Linked DNA regions of Homo sapiens: region 1 is linked to region 2. Evidence: promoter capture Hi-C in 16 types of primary human blood cells and fetal thymus (Javierre and others, 2016). All regions are on one chromosome and are shown on one strand. Each heading gives the region's core, a stretch centred on a gene start or on the middle of the fragment in contact. The rest is flanking DNA. Distances are from core to core; before and after follow the strand shown.

Region 1 (2,805 bases), core at 17-2,516, 540 kb after region 2:
AGGATATTGGTCTAGAGCCCAGGTCTTTTATCCCCAGGAATTTCTTTATTATGCATTCACTGCTGGCTGATCCATAAGATAGATGGCTGGGATAGATTGGTCATTTCCAGATTGGTCATTTCCAAATTACTTACACCTGTCCGCCCAGTAAATGTGTGTTCAGGTAAGGCAAATTATAGTTAGAAATATAGGTTGGCTACAGGCTGCCTTTAATAGGTTTGAAACAAAATGTAAATATCCATTTTTTGATTTGTCATCTTCCTTATTCTCAAGCCACTATTCAGGCCAGTTTACTCACTTATTTGGAAAGCTAAAAGAGAATTTGAAGGCAACTATGTATGTGACATTTTCTAATATCAGACCATCCAACAGTTTTTAAAACAGGAACATCATTCACCTTTGAGCCAGCAGGCTTTTGTTGTTCACTCACCAGGAAGAAAAGATAAATCCATTTGATATGCTTCCCTCTTTATGTTTATGTACCTATAGGAAGTTTGTAGGTCCAGAGGAAATAGATGGTAGTTTAATGTTTAACTTTTGGGGAAAAGATGGTACAAGTTCTAGGATATGCTCAATAGAAAGTACTATTTAGTTTCTCTAGTTCAGATAATAAATACAACATGTTGGTGGGTTAACCAACTTGACATATTTTTTTTGGTAGTAGTCGAATACCTAAGGATCTAAGTCTCATTGTCCTGTATGGAATCTGGTGGCAATGGTGATGGACCTGTTTTACCTATATGATGGGCATTTAACATGGTCTGTTAAATGATAGCATTAAGAACCTCAGCCCATTTTTTTCCCTCCTTAAATCTACCTTTTAATTTTTTCTTAGACAAGGTAAAAGTTTGAAACTATTAGGGAAAATGTGAATGCCTCTGCATTTGTCCCCTCCTGCTGTGCAGCCTTCCTTGTGGCTGCTGTCCTCACAGATCAGGAACTCATTCCCCAAAATGATAGTGTATTGGTAACACATATCCTTTGTTCCACGATTCTAGGATATGAATACAAACTACCAGTGTATTCTACCCAAAGCTACAAATGAAAATAAGCTTACTTTTTTGATCCACAAAACAGGATCAGGATCCATTGGTATTGAATGCCAAAATCTGACTCAATACTTGTCAGAATTTTGTTAGAATACTACCGAAGCTTTTGAGGTAGAGAATTGTGGAGGTTTCATCCTGGAAGAGTTAACTTCGTCTTAAGAAAGCAAGCAATTTATAGGGTGACTTTATATCCAGCTATTATATCTCTAAGATATACTAAAAAAGACAGTTTTAAAATTAAGTAGGCACTGTTCATATTTATTTATATAAGGTACATATAAAGGTGTATAACTACTAAAAGATACTACATTTGCTCTTTTACATTCTAAATTAAGCTTCAGTTGAGCCATTTTTTCAAGGAAGTCACAATTTGAAAAGGAGCAATCTATAGGCATGCATTTGGATAACCAGAAAGTCACAGATTATTTTTAAGTTTACAACATTTTTGCTTAAGCCATGAAAACTATCCTCTGAGTTCCTAAGAAATGTTACTATTTAAGAAATTTAGAAGATGACAAGGACAGTTTGGGAAGGAGGTGGCTGGTGACAGTGAGATGAAAAATTATGCTCCAAGAAAAGGTTTATGAATTGCAAAATATGTGCCTTTAAGTCTTAGTGTCATATTTCCTTTTGGGAAATAGTGAACTGTGAAGAAGTTAGTTTTTTTCTGAATTTTTAAATCTGTTGACACAACCAGCACCTTCTGTTAGCTACACGGTGCCAGTCTCAGAGCTATAATAATCTACATCTTTCAGGTAGTCTGTTTTCTCTGTGGTCTTTCCATCAGTAAAGACTATCCATTGCTTACTGTCCATGCCCTTGTGAGTTTAGTAGTATTAACATAAATTTCGCACTTGGGTTTTTTCAGAAAATTGGTAAGGAAGCACAGGTATATTTTGTATTGAAACATTGATTAGAACAGTGGTTCCCAAACTTTAGTGTGCCTCAGAATCAATGGCAGGGCTTGTTAACACATACTTTAGTCCTGCCACATAATCTCTAAGTGAAATTCTTCACGTAGGCTACTTCTCAATATAACCTCCCTTCTTTACACTTCCTTTTGTCCTTTCTTTCATGGTATACATGTAACTTCCATCTCCCCTTAACACCAGCTGTGAATTCAAATGATTATCTCCTTTCCAAATTGCTCAGTGTTTCCCTTTTATATTAGGTCTTTGTCAGTGGCAAGAACAGAACCCAAAGGTGGGTAACAGAAAAAGGAAGCCATAGAAGGCAGCTGAGCTTAGGGACTTCAGTGAGTGTAAGCAGGGACTTGGAACGGGGTCCTTAGGGCTCATCTTTCCTTCTCTGGTTTGCCTTTCTAAGCGTGACAGTTCTTCACATAGACTGTCATCATGTAGTGTGCTCTGTGGCTTCTGAGAAAACCATACTCAGTCCTGGTGGCTTAACAACAGCTGCAGTAAAAAGGTGGTGTCTCCTCATAAGCTTTGGCAGAAAAGACTAGGGAAGGGTCCCAATGGGCTCAGTTTGGGAAATGTGATCCCCCCAATTCAGCCATGCCATTGATTAGACATGAATCTTGTGCCCACTTGACTTGAAGTAGATTCTCCATTTAAAACAGATTTTATTATTGAAAAAAAAGGAGGCCAGGCATGGTGGCTCACGCCTGTAATCTCACTATGTGAGGCTGAGGCGGGAGTATCGGTGGAACCAGGATTTCAATACTGGCCTTGGCAACATAGTGAGATCCTGTATCTACAAAAAAATAATTAACCCGGGCATGGTGGTACATTCC
Region 2 (3,131 bases), core at 103-2,602:
ATATTTTCTCACCGCATGGAATGATAATTATAGGAAGGAGGGTGAGGTCGGAAAGATTCCTCAACCACACTCTGTTGGCATTGCCAAAACAGGCACTCCCTCTGCCAGAATTGACTAAATGCAAGAGGGATGCCAGTTAGTACAGGATGATCGTGCTCAGTTGGATTTCATGTGTCCCATTGTCTTACGGTGTGTGGTATGTGTGTGTCTGAAAATAGGGTAAGTAAAATGAATTGGAAAGAAAATTCAGTTAAAAATTAGGAAAACAAATGGGGAAAGAACCTGCATATTGTCTTGAGGTTAGACTCTAACATCAAGCATTCGATCCTAACATTTAGCATTTGATTTGAAAGGTTCCTTTGGGGTCCGAGGCCTATCCTATCCAGGATTGTGGTCCGTTGTGAGCAGATGGGGTTTCCCTCTTAGAAGATGAGCTTGGTTCCAGTTTCCTAGAGCCTTTGGGTAATGGCCGGTTGCTCACAAGAGCTGAGGAGACAGCATAGCTGACAGGCACAGTCAGAGGCAGCTTTAAATATCACGCACCCCATCATTTGGTGGGTGGGTGTGTTGTCGCTAACTGTGCCGCCACTTCAACAAAGAAAGTGGTGAGTTGCCAAAAAACAAGGATGCTCCGTCTTAAGCATTAGGCTGAATTCTTCTTAGAGAAGTGTTTTTTTAATGAAGAATTTTATCCTAAAATATTTTCCAAATTTACTTATCCAACGAAAGTAATTTAAGCATTGTAGCAAGTAACTAGAATCTGCAGAATGAGAACAACTTTCTCTCACAAAAATCAATCTTCTTTATTCATCGAGTGGTCTCAGGTGCCCTGTGTGGGGTGGGGGCTTTCCCAATGCCACAATTATGCAGGCTGCTCAGAGAGACACTGGACCTGGCAACCAACTGCCCAGCTAATTTACAAGCAGGTGACAGGTGGTGAAACTATGATTTTGATATTTTTAAATGGTTCTTTCCTTCCCATAAATGCTGCTTTTTGGAAAGGTCACTTTAGTTTTCTTTAGGAAAATGAGCCTTTTCTCCCTCTCCCAAATGCTAAGTTGATGCCCTTCCCCAGAAGTCTTCCTGTTAATTGAGTTGGCCTGAAGGTCATCAACAATAATCAATATGAAGACTTGCTGCGACGTGCTAATTGACACTCCCAAAGAGGAATAGTGTCAACAATCAATAAAGAGGACAGAGCACTGGTAGATTTATGGCTTTGATTTTGAAAAGGTATAGGAATGCCTGTGATGTTTCCCCACCCCCCAACCCCGTACTCCTTTTGAATGTTAATGCTTTCTTGAAGATGATTTCAGACACACTGCTAGGATACTGCCTCTACTCGCTGAAGCAGAATCCTCTGAAGAGTTGCTGAGGCAGAACTGAAATCATGGCTCACCTCAAAGAAGCAGCAGTATTGGCCGTTAATGATGCCTCACACAGAAAGACGATGCTCCTTTAACTCGGGGTTTTAATGGGAAGTTTCTAAGCCTGAAACAACAGCTTTAGACCTGGGGTGTGCCATCAGCTGCCTTGCAGCTACCACTGTCTACTGCTTTCACACAGCGTGGTCGGGAAGAATGGAAACTAAAGAGGCTTGTAACTACCTGTAACTGTTCCACCAGGAAATGGATCAAGTGTTTGTTCAGCCAGAGCCAGGTACTTGACCCAACCTGTATCTTTGACGGGCTAATTAAATGCTTTTCTCTAACTTTACAATTGATGCATGAGCAATCATCGCATACATGCCTTTCGGATCATAGTTGTGAATTTAGATCTAGCTGTTAGATAAGTCTAATTAAACAATTGCTAGATAAAGTTAAGAAGCGAGGGGGTAAAATGTAATGATGCCTTTATTTTTAAAGCATGGTTAAGTTTATAATGTTATTGATACTGGATGAAGAAGTAGTAAAACAGGCTTTTTTTTCTTTCCTAAGCTGCAGTAATTTATTTCTGAAAGCTGTTTGCCCATTATCGTATTTTTTTTTTCAGTCACCTAAAACGTCCAACCTTCCAAAATGTAACAAGGATGTTCTGATTTGTTTACAAAGGATCACAACTCAACCACTCATATTGACAGCGTTGACTGTCCCTGGCTGATAAGCTGTGTGCAGCACTATCCTTTTGAGATATCAGCAAGTAGCCGTTTTCACTATGAAACACACAAAGAAAGACAAAGAAAACCAGGTGGAACAGTAGGGCTTATTATTTGAAGTTAAAAGTTCCAGTTCGTTAAGGGTGCCTTCTGATACCACCGATTCCTGACTAGGCACCCTCATGGTGTTTTCTGATGTTCTCAGCTAGGCAGTAGCCTTGCCCTGCAGTCCCTTAAAAATTCCTCAAGCAGATATTAAGAGGAAGATGAAGATGGGGAAGAAGTAAAGCTGAGATTGGGGCTGAGGCTGAAGACAAAGGTCTCCTGCTGACCCAGAGCTTAAAAGCAGCAGTGAGTTGAGAATAACAGGGTCCACTCCCAGCCCAAGCAGACGTGTCTGCAGGCTGACTTTGCAGAAACAAGCAGAGAACAGACTTCCCAGTGCAGCAGTGGGGGCTGGCAACAGTTCTGAAACTGCCTGTTGACATCTGTAGCTGAAGACATCCTCATGTTTATGAAATCATTGTTCGTAGGCTTTCTAGTAGACTTGAGTCTATGTTTTGAGAGTATAAAATATATTTACCCTTAGCCCCCCTTTGAATTTTGAAGCATCAGGGCTATTGTATTGGAACAGGAGGGCTGTACTTGGAAAAAAATATAGAGATGTTGCCGTGTATATGAGCCAAAAACAAGGGGAGTGGGAGGATTTAAAATCTATGAAACACCTAGAAAGAGCCAGGAAATCTTTACCTGAAGTTCTTTGCTGGTAAGCAAGAGGGCCATGAATTCTTTGAATTTATATGAAATATTTTGTATCTTTGTGTGTATATCCTGAATGCAAGTTACTGTTCACTAGAATAATACACAGAATTTCTAAAAGATTTGTAGGGGAATAATATTTGCTTATGTGGTGATTCTGTTGCTTAGATAACGAGGTGGCTTATACAGATGACTCACAGTTGTGGTGGGGATGGATAATAGGATCATTTGGGAGATTTACACATCTAGGGTGGGTGAGTGGGTTGGAGAATGAAAT

The links. Contacts are between HindIII fragments. The CHiCAGO score rates a contact against its expected background, and 5 or more counts as called.
Region 1: a contact is called between a fragment that was not itself captured here and the fragment with the promoter of CTXN3 in region 2, in 1 of 17 cell types (M2 macrophages). The highest score is 5.1, in M2 macrophages.

Annotation. Positions count from the first base shown.
Region 1 is chr5:128,190,194-128,192,998 of GRCh38, forward strand. No RefSeq gene overlaps it. Among named protein-coding and RNA genes, the nearest start is that of SLC12A2, 110 kb to the left of the region's middle. The HindIII fragment of the contact is 232 bases long and covers 1,151-1,382 here.
Region 2 is chr5:127,647,730-127,650,860 of GRCh38, forward strand. It overlaps CTXN3 (cortexin 3), which reads left to right and starts at 1,353. Exons shown (of 3, transcript NM_001048252.3): 1 at 1,353-1,659. The HindIII fragment of the contact is 10,433 bases long and covers 1-3,131 here.